Linked DNA regions of Homo sapiens: all the other regions are linked to region 1. Evidence: promoter capture Hi-C in 16 types of primary human blood cells and fetal thymus (Javierre and others, 2016). All regions are on one chromosome and are shown on one strand. The core of a region is centred on a gene start or on the middle of the fragment in contact, and the rest is flanking DNA. Distances in the headings are between cores, read along the strand shown. Region 1 holds the start of ARMC2 (armadillo repeat containing 2). Region 2 overlaps FOXO3 (forkhead box O3). Region 3 overlaps FOXO3 (forkhead box O3). Region 4 overlaps SESN1 (sestrin 1). Region 5 overlaps SESN1 (sestrin 1).

Region 1 (2,849 bases), core at 259-2,758:
TGGAATAAACCCTGGGTTTTTAGGATTTCCAGAAGCCCCCAGGAGGGAGGTCCCCATCAGTGGGAGACTACAAAGGACCAGGAAAGACCTACATGAGCTGCTTTAACCATAAGCCAGCACAGCAAGCTTGAAGCTGCTCAACTCCAGGAAGAAATGCTCCATCTCCTTCCTTCTCCTCCTCCTCCTCACTGCCAGTTTGATCCAAGCTGGGCCTTAAACAACCTCTAGTGAATAGAGGGGCGGGTGGGGGTCGGGGACAAGCCTAAGCCTAGTGCACCCCTTCAGGGAAGGCCAGCTAGAGACCTTAAGCCTGGGGCTGGAATGGGGGAGGAAGACTTTTTGAAGTTTGATGCATTTGTTTATATCTTGCACCCAACATTATAGTTTTGAAATGAAGCTGTGGTTGAGATTTAGTTACAACAAGACTGTCAGTTATCTAAGAATGAGCAGAAAAATCCAGGGCTGTTTCGGGTCCTAAAATTATCCAATCAACGAATAGGTATTTATTTTCTGTTATGTTTGAAATCCTCTTGAGTATTTTGAAGAATATTTACATTCCTTTAGTTCAGGTTAGTATAATTTCCCACCTGGCACGATGCCTTACACATAGTATGTGCTCAAAAATATTTTCAATTTAATTATTCTTTACAAGATGCTTAGCACCAAGGGAAGTGGCATTTTCCCAGTGTTGATGACAAATAGCACTTCAGCTGGAAAATCTCCATATTTATAAAACGTGGTGCAAACCTGAATGGAGAGTGCTTATGATCTCACTTTTATTTAACACTGTACAGTGTTGCTAAATGGTCTAACAGGAGAAAAGGGAATTTAAACTAGAAACACATAAATGGAGTGCTTTTTGCCGTTCAACTGTGATGATGCACGAACAAAAAACGATTGGCCACGGGAGACCTAGACTGGAATCTCCTTCTCCTGCTCACTACACCTCAGGCCCCCAGTTCCTCTCCTGTGGATGGGGACGCCAGGCTGCCTACCTCAGACTCAGAAGGTACGATTACGTGCATACACTCTGCGAACTGAAGGGCTGTACAAATGCAAGGGCTTAATAACAGCCAACAGTTTAATATTCGTTGATTGCCACGTGCATAGCGCTTTACATCTATTTTCTCATGCAGTCTTCATAACAGCCCAAGACCTACCTAGGTACTATTATTAATATTTCCTGCCACTTGACATCGGAGGAAACAGAAGCTCAGCAAGTGGCTCCAGGTTATACAGAGCCCTAACCTGAGCCAGTAAATCCTTCTTACCCACAAGCATTAAGCTTCCGTCCTGCCTGCTGTTATTTAACAGAGGTGCTGGGATCCGGCAGGGGAGCAACAAATGTGGTTCGGCAAATTGCTAAACGAAAAGCGGACACCCGCCCACGACGCCTGCTCTGATCTGACCTCCCGGCCTACAGCCCTCTCCAGGCTCCTCCCACCCGCTCCGGCCGTCGCCACGCCTCGGAGCTTCTACGCATGCGTTGGCGGGACCCGCGCAGGCCCAGTGGCCGAGCGGCGTCGTGGGGTTACCCCGCCCGCGCCAGCGCTGCATCCCTGGCCGCTACCCGGGGAGAGCCGGAGGATGAATTGAACCTCGCAGCCGCTGCTATCTCCAGTGCTCATCACAGGTGCTTTGGGTCAGGTCGGAAGCCTCCTTCCCTGAGCCCTCGCCAAGCTCATTCCCCGGCCCGCCTCTCCCGCCCTGCAGCGGCCTGGCCCTGCGGTCTGGCTGCCGGGGCGGCGGCGGGAGGTAGTTTGTGTACGGTTACCATGGAGACGCTGGCTGCGGGGCGAAGTGGGAGGGTGGCCGGGCGGGGTGAGGATGCTGCTGCGCCCTGCCCTGGCCGGGACCGTGGAGGAGCGGGCACTGCCGTGGGTGGGGGAGCCGCTGTCCGAGCGGGAGGTGAGGTGTCCCCAGCGGCTCCCCAGGGACCCTTCCTGCCGTCGTCCGCCTGTGTGTCCTCGGATGGGGTAGAGAGACGATGAGTGCCCTGTGCATGCTGTCAGGGGTCCGGAGCGGTTGTCTTTTATTTATGTACTGTCGCACTTAGCCAAGTGCGTGGTGCTTAATAAGAAGCCCAGTAATATTTGTTGAATGAGAGTGGTAGACTAAGGGGCTTTGTCTAGGCAGGCGGTGACCGGGCCAGAGTCATACAGTTTATATCTGGGCACTTCCAGGCAACAGGGCCTCAATAAATAAAAACGTATGTGTAACAATATTTAACATACTTTAAAATCATGGAGTGTATACATAATGCCTTTTGTGATCCATTCCCACAAGTAACACAACAGATCTTACGTCCCACCCTGATTTATAATAATTATACTTTAATTTGGTTGAAAAGCAAGCACCATTTATTATATTTATCCTGGTTTCTTAATCTATGGGATTCTGGTTGTTGATGTTGATTTGGCATAGCTGATATTCAATAAAATGCTTAATAAAAATTATCTGTTTTCATAAAGGCAAGTACCACCACCCACCTTTTAAAAGGAGAAGTACGTAATGTAAATGACGAGTTGATGGGTGCAGCAAACCAACATGGCACATGTATACCTATGTATCAAACCTGTACATTGTGCACATGTACCCTAGAACTTAAAGTATAATAATAAAAAAAAACTTATGTATAGAAACACTGAACAAACGTCATTCTCTCTTTTGCAATTTCTTTTTTTAAATGTAGTTTTTCATTCGTGGAAATGATTTTGCTGTATCCTTTTATCATGTAGCACTTGGGCAATAATTGTTAACATCTTTAAGGGCCATATTTTAAAATGTTAACATTTTTAAAGCACTGTGCTAACGCACTTTACATGTATTATATCATTTAATTCTTCAAA
Region 2 (2,849 bases), core at 91-2,590, 250 kb before region 1:
GATACAGAACATTTCTTATCACTGCAAGGATCCTTCCTATTGTCTTTTTTTTTTCTGACGGAGTCTTGCTCTGTCCGCCAGGCTGGAGTGCAGTGGCGCAATCTCAGCTCACTGCAAGCTCCGCCTCTGGGGTTCACTCCATTCTCCTGCCTCAGCCTCCCCAGTAGGTGGGACTACAGGCACCTGCCACCATGCCCGGCTAATTTTTTTTTTTGCATTTTTAGTAGAGACGGGGTTTCACTGTGTTAGCCGGGATGGTCTCGATCTCCTGACCTTGTGATCCACCCACCTCGGCCTCCCAAGGTGTCCTAGTGCTTTTTAAAACATTTTATTTTTATTATTTTATTTTTGAGACAGAGTCTTGCTCTGTTGCCTAGGCTGGAGTGCAATGGCACAATCTCGGCTCACTGCAGCCTCCGCCTCCTGGTTTCAAGTGATTCTCCTGCCTCACCCTCCCGAGTAGCTGGGATTACAGGCGCCCACCACCTTGCCCGGCTAATTTTTGTATTTTTAGTAGAGACGGAGTTTCACCATGTTGGCCAGGCTGGTCTTAAACTCCCGATCTCAGGTGATCCACCTGCCTTGGCCTCCCAAAGGGCTGGGATTAGAGGGGTGAGCCACCGCACCCAGCCCCCCTTCTATTGCTGTCTTATAGCAACAGCTACCTCCTTTCCCCTGCCTAACTTGACCCCTGGCAACCATTAATCTGCTCTTCATTTTTATAATTTTGTCATTTCAAGAATGTTACATAAGTGATCATGTTATATCATACAGTATATGGATTTTTGGGATTGACTTTTTCCATTAAGCCTGATTTCCTGGATCCAAGTTGTTACACATCTCAGTAGTGTGTTCCTGTTTGTTACTCAGTAGTGTTCCACTGTATGGCTAGGTTACATTTTATTTATTCACTCATCACTCAATGGACATTTGGGTTGTTTTCAGTTTGGGGCTATTTTGAATAAAGCCTTGTGCTATGAATATTAATTTACAGGTTTTTATGTGAACGTAAATTTTCATTTTTCTGGGATAAATGCCCAATGACTTCATTTTAATGATGGCAAAATATTTCATTGTATGAAATAAATATTTCATTAATTTAGCTGATTTCTTCTAAATGGGTTGTTAAGGGTTTTTCCCCCTAGTTTTTCTGCTGTTATAAATATCACTGATGAAAATATTTTAGGTAAATCTTAATGTATATCTACTTTTATTTCTAGAAGTGGAATTGATGTCTGAGAGCATACAGAATTTTAAAGCTTTGCTTTTTCTAGTCACTCTTTTTTTTCTTTCCTAAAATCTTCCTAAACTCCTACCATCAATGTATGAAAGTGCCCATTCTCATACCCTTGCCAACACAGAGCATTATTACTTTAAAAAATCTTTGTAAATTTCTGCCATACGCCTGTAGCAGCATAACCTAAAGCTTCACTGTAAGTTTTCCAATCCCACTTGGCCTAAGAAGATCTTTCAGAGTAACAGAGATGCCACCAAGATCTTGTTTTTTGCGTGAAGTTTGGGACTCTGCAGCTTCATAGAACCTCAGAGGATTTGGTCTAGAATGGGGTAAAGAATTACAGGAAATCACTGAGTTTTTGTATGTTGCTGCTGTCTGTTATTTGTCCCTCATATTTATCCAGAAGGAGGCAAGTGTGCTGTCATAAGCAATAGCATTAAAACCAAACCAAAAAAAAAAACCTTTTATTATTAACAAAGGTTATTTTTTTATAATAGATGTGGATAACTTTTTATAAAGGCCGATTAATATAAGCAATATAGATGATTGTGTACATGTGTCTTTCTGTGTGTTTTGTATTATAGGAACCTATTTTGAAGCTCTTAGAGCTGAGAGTTAAGTGGTCTTTTAATGGAACTGCTAAGACAAGGTAGAGTAGGAGATACTTTTCTTCCCTCTTTATGCTGAAGTGTTTTAGTGTTTCTGTCTGTGACTAGGCAGTAACTTTGAAAGGAATAAGATAGGGTTAATAACATATCTACTAAAACTTGGAAAATATACTATATTTTCTGAGATAAAAATCTTTGGATTGAAAATTACTTTCTGGTGGAATATGGCAAACTGACATTCATTCAATGTAAGACTTTTTTTCCCTCACTTTTTGTGTTTTCATCTGTAGTTTTTTTTTTTCTTTTTTACCTGTGGTACCATTTTTAAGGTGAATCAGGCCAGTTTCAGCAAAAAATGGTTGTACTGTTCATCACTTCAGTAGAAGGTAGGATGACTTCGATGAGGTTGTGCTCAGTAACTTCTCTGGTGCTGAATTAGTGTCCTGTGACAAAGAAGGATCCCATTCTTACAAATAAATGAATAAAGGAGACTAGCAGAATCTGGCATTTCTCTTTTTAAAAGTTTATAATCAATTATTCATTCAGTCATTCAAGTACCTTCTACATGTTTGCAGCTAAAGACTAATGAGTGTAATTAAACAAGTGGATCAAGTAAAGCATCAGCCATGAAAACTTTTCACTTTCTCGGGGATGATAAAGGACCCTCCTTTTTTTCCTTGTCATATTTTCCAGTTTATCATGATTCTTATGGTATTGGTGATTTTAACTTTAAGTGTCTAGAAAATTTACGCACATTTTGGCCTAGGAAAGAAAATACAGTATTGAAGAACAAGTTGAGGATCTCCAGGTATTAAATATAACCTGATTTCCAGAGGAACTTGATATAAAGAGGATAGGACTCTGCTAATGGGGAGAGGAGGGAATCATTGTTGGGGTTTTGGGTAGAGCATCTTCTTTGAACTAATCCTGGACAGCCTTTCCCAAACTGAGGGTGTGCCATCATTTCCTTGAGGGCAGTAGAAGGCCCTGAGAATCTATCTGAC
Region 3 (2,849 bases), core at 90-2,589, 230 kb before region 1:
GTCCTTAAGAGTTTTAATTTGGCGTGTCTTAATGCCTAAATCTCACTTAAGCTTGGTTGCAAAGCCTGGCAAATCAGTCTTCTGTACATGGCAAGCTAAGATGTGGCACCATCTTCTTGAGGTTTCATATCCTAAACCTGTCTGTCCTTACAGGTTAAATTCAAAGGATAGGGCCAAGCTTGATTTGCTGTAGTCATAGTGAATCATCACAGATCCATTCTTAGTGCAGAAGAGTTAAATAATTCCTTGGCCAAGAGCATGGTGCCTTCCCCAGACCAATTTCTAACAGTGTCCTCTGTTAGATCTTTAAGTTAATAAATTCTTTTATTAGATTTTTGGGTCAGAAAAACAGACTATGCTTGTACTCAGGAGCCCAGAAATACATAATATAATTGACTAATTCCTGTCTTTGAGGTCTTAACGTGGTTTCATGTGCCTTTTGATTTGTTTTTACATGTGGATCATTTTCCCTTAACACTTTAATATGATACAATTTTTGTCTATCGTTTTTCTTAAATAGGAGGGAGAAAATTTTTTTTAGTAGGAAAATATCTGGTGGTAAGTGGCATCTTTTTATTCCATGTGGGATGCAGAAGTTTCTCCCAAAAACTGAAGTGACCTGCTTTTTGCAGATAGGACCCCTGTATTTCTCCCATATTACTTTATAGCTGGTAGATGGTAGGGCTGTACACAGCAAATGGGTTTGAATGCATGATGGTTTTCTGGTGGAGCTGAGATAATTAGTATTATGAAGCCACGCTTCTGATTGTGAGAATGAGAACATCAAGTCATTATTTATCTTGGAAAGAACGAATAATTTGTTTATAGTAATAACAATTTTCTTTTATTTTTCTTTCTCTTAGTCAATAGCTGCTGCTGTTGGCAGCTTATTATGAAAAGATTTCAAGTTGTAGTTTTTAACCTGGGGTGGGAGTAGGGGAGAAGAAAATTAATATCGTAAATGTTTTTACTTGATAAAAGTTTTATTTGATACAGAGCCTATACTGGTGTTTTTATTGAATAGTGTTTTATTGCTGACATTCAATACTCTCTTTGCCTGTAGCCTCCCACGTTATCCAAAATGAAGGCACTTCTTAGATGTTTCAATGAATGATACAACCAAAAATATTAAAATGCCTATTTAAGTCATATCTTATTTAAAGCCCCATTTCAAAGGAGGATTTTGAGGATAATTAGTATTTTAATTGTTAAAGTTAGATAATTTTGTTTGGATGGAAAATCTATGTTCCTGTGAAATTGGGGTTTATGAAATAAGATTGGAAAAAAATAGAGTGTATAATTGGGCACATTCTGTACTGCTTAGTGAATCACCAAACGAGTGTAATCACCATTAAGCACTTTAAAAGCTATGCTTGTATGTCCTCGCTCTGCCTGCAGAGCTAGGAGTGCCCACGAGGAACAGCAGTTCATTCAGGCTGTAGTCATTGGGGTGACTCGTGGAACCCCTGCCTGTGTGAGTAAGCCCGCTGCCTTGCCAACTGCCTGCTGTGTGAGTCTCAAAGACATCAGATGTCATCAAGCCACAAGGACTTCTTGGTCATTCTTAAGGCCATGGCAGGAGCACAGTTCAAAATCCAATTCACAAGGCAACGTCTGGAAGAAAGAATCAAGTATGTGTGTAGTGCATGATGTACCTCAGCTACTGTAGTGAAAAATTGTTGGGATGAGTCTTTCACCATGTTAGTGTTTTTTTTTGTTTTGTTTTGTTTTTTGAGACAGAGTCTTCCTCTGTCACCCAGGCTGGTGTGCAGTGCTAAATATCCTGCAGTGCATAGGAGAGGCCCACAGCAGATGTGTCCAGCTCAAAATGCCAGTAGTGCCAGGGCTGAGAAACCTACCTGAAGCCTCACAGTGGCATGGTCCGTTTCAGAAGTATGTGGGAGAGAAAATTGAAGGTGAGAGGTCTGTAGCTCTCCTGAAGTCAGGCCACATAAGTACTTTGCCAGGTAGGTAGTGCCTAGTGACAGGGATGTACTAGAAAGAATTCCTCTTGAGCTTGGCCTTGGGTCTCGTGCAGACATGTTCATGTGACATTAGGGGAGGCTGTGGGCCTCAGGCAGCTAAGGAGTAACTGGCAAGTTTTGTATGGAGAGTCGGGAAGACAGAAGCAGGGGCAGCCGGGAGTGGTGGCTTACCTAGTAATCCCAGTACTTTGTGAGGCCAAGGCGGGTGGATCACTTGAGATCAGGCGTTTGAGACCATCCTAGCCTGGCCAATATGATGAAAGCCCATCTCTACTAACAATACAAAAAAATTAGCTGGGTGTGGTGGCGCATGCCTGTCATCCCAGCCACTTGCGAGGCTGAGGCAGGAGAGTCGCTTGAACCCAGGAAGTGGAGGTTGCAGTGAGCCCAAATCATGCCACTGCACTCCAGCCTGGGCGACAGAGCAAGACTGTCTCAAAAAAAAAAAAAAAAAAAAAAAAGGCAGGGATATCTGAGACTTAAGTTCCTCTTGGAGAGCTGGAGGGTCAGGAGAGCGAAGCTTTCTATCTTGCTTTGTACCTGAGATCTCCTTGAATCAGGGTGGGCAGGGAGAGAGAAGGGATCTGTTCAGACATTTCCTTTTGGGGTCAAATGAGAGGAAGGAGTCCTTGCCCCTTGGAGAATTACTGCAAGGATCTGGTTGAGTTGAGAATTTGTTTCCCCCACCAGTATTGTTTTTGGTGTTTTTTTGTTTTGTTTTATTTGTTTTGTTTTGTTTTAACATCTCTGTTTCCTTCCCCTTTCTGTTGTTGCTCCTTCCTCCTCCCACTCCAACTACCACACAAATCCTGACAGGAGCCTTTCTGCCCCTCTAGGGAAGGGGCCCGTGTGAGGAACTCTTAC
Region 4 (2,849 bases), core at 238-2,737, 200 kb after region 1:
TTTGTTTTGTTTTCTCTCACAGTTCTGGAGGCTGGAAAGTCCAGGGTCAAGATGCTGGCATTTGGTCTGATAAGGGCCTTCTTGCTATCTCCTTACATGACAGAAGACAGTCGAACAAAGGCAAGTTAGCCAAACCCTGTGTGAAGCCTCTTTTATAAGGACCTTAATTCCACTGATGAAGGAGCAGCCCTCTGGCCTAATCACCTTTTAAAGACCCCACCTCTTAATACTATCACATTGACAGCACCCAAATTTTGGAGTGACACATTCAAACCACAGCAGACAACAATGGCTTATTAGCTTGGTGCAAAAGTAATTGAGGTTTTTGCCATTACTTTTAATAAGACAGATGTAGAAGATAAGTTTCAAACCAAAGTCAGACAGGTAGCTGCAAATACATCAAAATGAAAATTCAACAAAGAAAGGAATTGTTGCTTATTTTATTATAATCTCATCCTCTTAGCCTAAAACAGTGCCTGGCACTTTGTAGTTGCTCAGTAAATAATTGTTAGATAAATGAATGAAGTTTCCCTCTATAAATTCCAGAAATATTTGAGAAAATTTTAAAGATAATTTTTGTTATTATAAAGCAATGTTTTACTGTAAAAGTGAAGACTATATTGATATAAATATATAAGCATAGACACAAAATGATTAAAATTGATCATAATCCTACCACTCAAAGAAAGCCACTGCTATTATAACACACTGGTATATTTACTTTCAGTTCTCTTTCTTATGTATATTTTTAGACAGCTGAGATCAAACATTACTTAAAATAGTTTATCTAGACTTCAATGTTCACTTAAAGTTTTAATATAATCCTTTCCCAATGTTATTGAAAATGAGAGTATTCATTATGTACTTTTTAAATGTTATATTTAAACATTCCAAAAGGCCTGAAAACAATTTTTATTGACAAGCAGGTTTTATATAAGTTACTGGCAGTAGATTATTCTCTAGTCATTGATATTGAATTTGTGATTTATAGGCTTAAAGGCAAAACTATACTACAGGAAACATTTCAACCATTAAGTATGCAGTTTTGAGACGAGACAGAATATTCCTTTAGTTCATTCATTTGTCCCTACACTCGACAAATATTTATTGTTGACTTAATCCAGACTAAGTACTGAGAATAGGATGAGCAAAACTACACAGCTGCTACCCCGTAGAGCTTATAATCTAGTCAAGGGAGACAGACATTAATCAAACAATCAATAAAGTAATTGAAAGTTGTAAATGTTAGGAATAAGAGGTATATGGTCATATACGTCACTATTCAATAAAAGGAGCTGTTCAAGACTAGGATGTGTGTGTGTGTGTGTGTGCGTGCGTGTGTGCACAGCAGGGAATTGGGGGTAGGAGGTAGGTTGGGAATAATTTTGTCTAACATTTAAGAAGTACTTCATTCAATGCTAGTGAAGCCTTGTGTTGGAAACATATGGCTTCTCTCATTTTCTTATTTGATAATCACAGCATCTTATGAGTAAGAATTATCTTCCTTCACCTTACAGATAAAGAAATTGGGGCTCAGAGATAAGTCAAATAACTTAAGATTATACAGCCAGTAAATAATGAACTGGGATGAAAACCCAAACAATAAGACAACAGAGCGCTTAAGTCATATGCCACATATCCCACTTCCCTGCATAACTGACAATTATACTAAGATATAAAGGATAAGCTGGTGTTAATAAAGCATGGTGTGGGGGAGGGGAAGAGAGAACATTCCATGCAGACTGAGAAACATGAGAAAGCCCCAAGACAGGAGAGGCTGCTATAAATTAAAGTGGGAACAACAGCAGTAACAAAGCCAGTGAACTAAGTAAGGACACAGAAAGTAATGGGAAATATGGAGATGAGACTGGGAGATGAGGCTGGGCCAGTGAAAGCCCTCATGGGCCACATGAAGGACTCTGGCATTCCTAAATGCAATGAGAAGGCATTAGACGCTTTCACTGCTTTTATCTGAAATTCAAACACTTAAGGGAAAGAAAATTCATAAAGGTTGGATCTCATGAAACAAGAACTAGAAGGACGAACACTCGCTCAGTTTTGAAAATATTTTCTAGGACCTATCATATCTGTATTAATAAGTATGCATACTTCAGGAATTTTAAAAGTGGTAGCTTTTGAATACCCTTTAAGATAAACCAAATGTAGACAAATTTAACAGAGGCTTGGGTTTGCCTTCTGGGTCTGGGCAATTACCTTTACTTTGTGCAATTTTAGTAGTTTTCATCTTTATTTTGGAATTACTTCTTGCCCCAGTTTTTCCCTTGTCAATTTTTTAATATTTTTAATATTGTTGGCAAGACATTTCTTTTCGTTTTTTCTTAATTTTTTGGGGGGGGAGGGATCTGGGAAAAATTCCCTGAACATACATCTAAGTAATTGTCAATTTAATTTTCTGCCGATTATTCATACCAATGATGAAAAACAAATTTACTTAAATATAGAAACTAAGACTAACTCTGAAAGTTATGATGATGGAATAGAACTTAAATGTCATAGATCTTAAGAATATTAAAATAATAACTTGACTAACAAAAATACGAGGTAAGAGGAAGGAAAAAACAAGTTCATTAATTTTCTCAGTTTAACAGAAGAGAATGATACAGTCTAAAGGTGAAAAAATATTTTTATACTCGATTTTTTATAATCCTTAAAAAATACAGTAAAGAATTCCTTTAGAGCTCTATTGTGAAGAAATATTATTTTTGCCCTAAGTGGAATTACTGATAAAAAGATAAAATTATGTTACACCAATTTACATGTCTATAAGCAGTGTATAAGAAAGCTCATTTTATAACATCCTGACCTACACGAGGATTATCTCCTGAAGG
Region 5 (2,849 bases), core at 178-2,677, 180 kb after region 1:
ACCATGCTAACAGTGACTGTTAACCTCCAAAATATGATCCACTATGTTTTTTTGATACTTTTATAAATAATGTTAGTGGATGTGCCTATGTTGTGTTCAGTTTTAAGGCACAACCACAGAGTATTTATGAGTCCCTTTTGGTCTATGTTAAGAGTACATTCTGTCCCAGGTGCAAGGATTTGGGGAAGTATGTTTGGGGACATATGTTTATCTTACTTTGAAATTACAACTACTGGCACATCACATACAAATAGGTACTTAAACTGCATTTTCATTATGTTACAGGCTTTGCACATAGAATACTAAAGAGAAAGCAACAGGTTTGGATCTAACAAAATAAAATGAGTAAAATTACCATTTGGCATAAACAAAATGTAACATTTTATGTAAAAGGAAAAATATAAAAACATAAATGAAGACTTACATTGTCAAATAATCATTATTAAAGTCACTTTCATATATTTAAAGCATAAGAGAATATTGTAGATTGTTCTTAGTGGCTAAATATGTTACTGCCTACTCAAAGAATGAGTGATTTTTTTTTCTGTAGAATGAAATTCAATGATCACACACACACACCCTTAAAATGTTTTCCCACACATTTGAAAATCAGTAATTTTTGCCAAAATAGATGTTGACTATTGATATAGCAACATTTCATTATATCTCAATTGACTTTTTAAAAAACAATCTCATGAATCTAGAACAAATTAAAAAAAAGATGTAAAATAGATGTCACAAAATTTACATACCATAGCATATGTACTGTATTCAGTGGAAAACCCTTCACCTGCCTCTCTTAGAGACAATTTACTTTTACTTGGTACAAAATTATAACAAGCTTCTTTATCTAGTTTCTAAGTCCATAGTAACTTATTAGGGCATAGGGACTACCATTAAACTGATAGCAGAGAAAAAAGGAATAGTGAAGCACTTAATCACAAAGGAAGAATCAGAAAAATTCTATAAAGCAGAAATAAGAACTTGGATAGCACAGTAGCAGGAAGCCATTTTCTATAAGGGTAATGGTCCTATAAGCCTTAAAAAGCCCTGACAGCACCGCCCTCTCCCAGATTAGGTTAAAAACTGACCTCGATATTAGTGCTTCTTACTCATGTTGGACAAAATACCTAAAAATATTTCTACAGATGCTTCTCAACTTACAATGGGGTTATGACTCAATAAGTTGAAAATATCATAAGTAAAAAATGCATTTAATACACCAAATCTTCTACATTATAGTCTAGCCTAGACTACCATAAATGTGCTCAGAATGCTGACATTAGCCTACAGTTGGGCAAAATCATCTGGCAACATGGTAGAGTATTGGTTGTCTGTCTTTGTGATTATGTGGCTGAGAACTGTCACTTGCTGCCACTGCCCAGCATTGTGAGTATCGTACTACTTTCCACAGCATTTTTCTACTGAATGTGTGTTGCTTACACACCTTAGTAAAGTCAAACAATTGTTAAGTGGAACTATCACAAATTGGAGACCTGTGTGTAAGAAATATTGTTTAAAATGGCCGAACTGGCAAAGTAACAGAAATCCTCAGAAACCAAAACCCACCGACAGGAGGAGTCTAGGGAGACAGTGAGCACTAAGGCTGGCAGCTGTGGATCCCCAGGGACCTAGAGCAGCAGCACAGAAAACAGAAGGCAAATCCTAGGACTTGGGAAATTGGGAGGTAGATCAGAGACCCCATCATAAAGCCAAAACCCAAGGGGCTAAACGCTCAAAGCATGAACAAGGAAAAACACCCCATTTACAAAAGAAGACAGAAGATTTGCCTGTTTTAAGGTTTATTCTTGGTGGAAGGGGTAAAATCTCCCCTGAATATTCATAAACACAAGGTGGATCACACATAAGGAGGTGGGGGATGAATTCCCTTATTACCTACCTGCTCTTAAAAGCAAGGTAAATATTTAGTATAAAGTGGGCTGGTTATGTCCCCCAGGTTCCAGTTAGAAATAAATAGAGATTTTCTCTGAAGGAGATACAATTCCAATGAATATAAGCTTACAATAATAAAAAGTACTATGCAAAAAGATGCCATTAGTGAGGACTACAGGAAACAATAATCACCTAAGACTGCAAAGTCAGATGCAGTCTGACTGCCAGAAATCATCTGCAAAGACTTTGGATACTAGATACAGAAGGCCAGTTCAATATGCTTTTTAAAACTTTAAAGGAAATAGAAAGTATGGGTGAGAAACAGGAAACTATCAAAAAATAACTAGACAGATTTGAAAATGAATGAAATAGTTTTTATAATAATTAAAACTTAAAATTCAATAAACAGCATACTCAGTATAGCTGAAAATTATTAGTAAACTAGAAAGTAAATCTGAAGAGTCCAGAATATAGCACATACAGCAAAGAAATGAAATTTATGAGAGAGAAAATAAAAGACATGTTAAGATGAAATAGAAGGTCTAATACATATATAATTGGAAGGAGAAAACAGAAAGAATAGGACAAAGGTAATATTCTAAGACACGATGGTTAAGGATTATCCAGAACAGATTAAAGACACCAATACTCTTTTTTTTTTTCAGGAAGCACAATGAATCTCATGCAGAATAACTTAAAAAAATTATACCTTGGCCTACAGTAAAACTGAAAAATTTCAAGGAAAGAGATCTTAAAGTCCATGAAAGGGAAAAGTCAGATTACCTACAAAGGGAAAACTAAGCTGACAGCCTAATTTTAAAGAATGGAAGCCAGAGGATCAAAATATTGAGAGAAAATATCATTGTTGAACTGTATTTAACACATGAAACTATCTTTCATAAAGTGAAAGAAACACATTTTAAGAGACAAAAACTAAGAATCTACCACCAACAGAT

The links. Contacts are between HindIII fragments. The CHiCAGO score rates a contact against its expected background, and 5 or more counts as called.
Region 2: a contact is called between a fragment that was not itself captured here and the fragment with the promoter of ARMC2 in region 1, in 1 of 17 cell types (megakaryocytes). The highest score is 5.3, in megakaryocytes.
Region 3: a fragment that was not itself captured here is called in contact with the fragment with the promoter of ARMC2 in region 1 in 3 of 17 cell types (M0 macrophages, monocytes and M2 macrophages); the score reaches 5.7 in M0 macrophages.
Region 4: a fragment that was not itself captured here is called in contact with the fragment with the promoter of ARMC2 in region 1 in 1 of 17 cell types (megakaryocytes); the score reaches 5.1 in megakaryocytes.
Region 5: a fragment that was not itself captured here is called in contact with the fragment with the promoter of ARMC2 in region 1 in 1 of 17 cell types (total CD8 T cells); the score reaches 5.6 in total CD8 T cells.

The regions. Positions count from the first base shown.
Region 1 is chr6:108,846,914-108,849,762 of GRCh38, forward strand. ARMC2 (armadillo repeat containing 2) reads left to right here and starts at 1,509. Exons shown (of 18, transcript NM_032131.6): 1 at 1,509-1,633. RefSeq lists a silencer at 1,767-1,866. The HindIII fragment of the contact is 2,745 bases long and covers 1,284-2,849 here.
Region 2 is chr6:108,600,972-108,603,820 of GRCh38, forward strand. The region is part of intron 1 of FOXO3 (forkhead box O3); the gene reads left to right. Among named protein-coding and RNA genes, the nearest start is that of FOXO3, 41 kb to the left of the region's middle. The HindIII fragment of the contact is 167 bases long and covers 1,258-1,424 here.
Region 3 is chr6:108,619,835-108,622,683 of GRCh38, forward strand. The region is part of intron 1 of FOXO3 (forkhead box O3); the gene reads left to right. Among named protein-coding and RNA genes, the nearest start is that of FOXO3, 60 kb to the left of the region's middle. The HindIII fragment of the contact is 2,327 bases long and covers 177-2,503 here.
Region 4 is chr6:109,051,736-109,054,584 of GRCh38, forward strand. The region is part of intron 1 of SESN1 (sestrin 1); the gene reads right to left. It also overlaps a transcript of ARMC2 not described here. Among named protein-coding and RNA genes, the nearest start is that of SESN1, 42 kb to the right of the region's middle. The HindIII fragment of the contact is 3,317 bases long and covers 1-2,849 here.
Region 5 is chr6:109,023,408-109,026,256 of GRCh38, forward strand. All of the region lies in intron 1 of SESN1 (sestrin 1), which reads right to left. It also overlaps a transcript of ARMC2 not described here. Among named protein-coding and RNA genes, the nearest start is that of SESN1, 70 kb to the right of the region's middle. The HindIII fragment of the contact is 1,177 bases long and covers 840-2,016 here.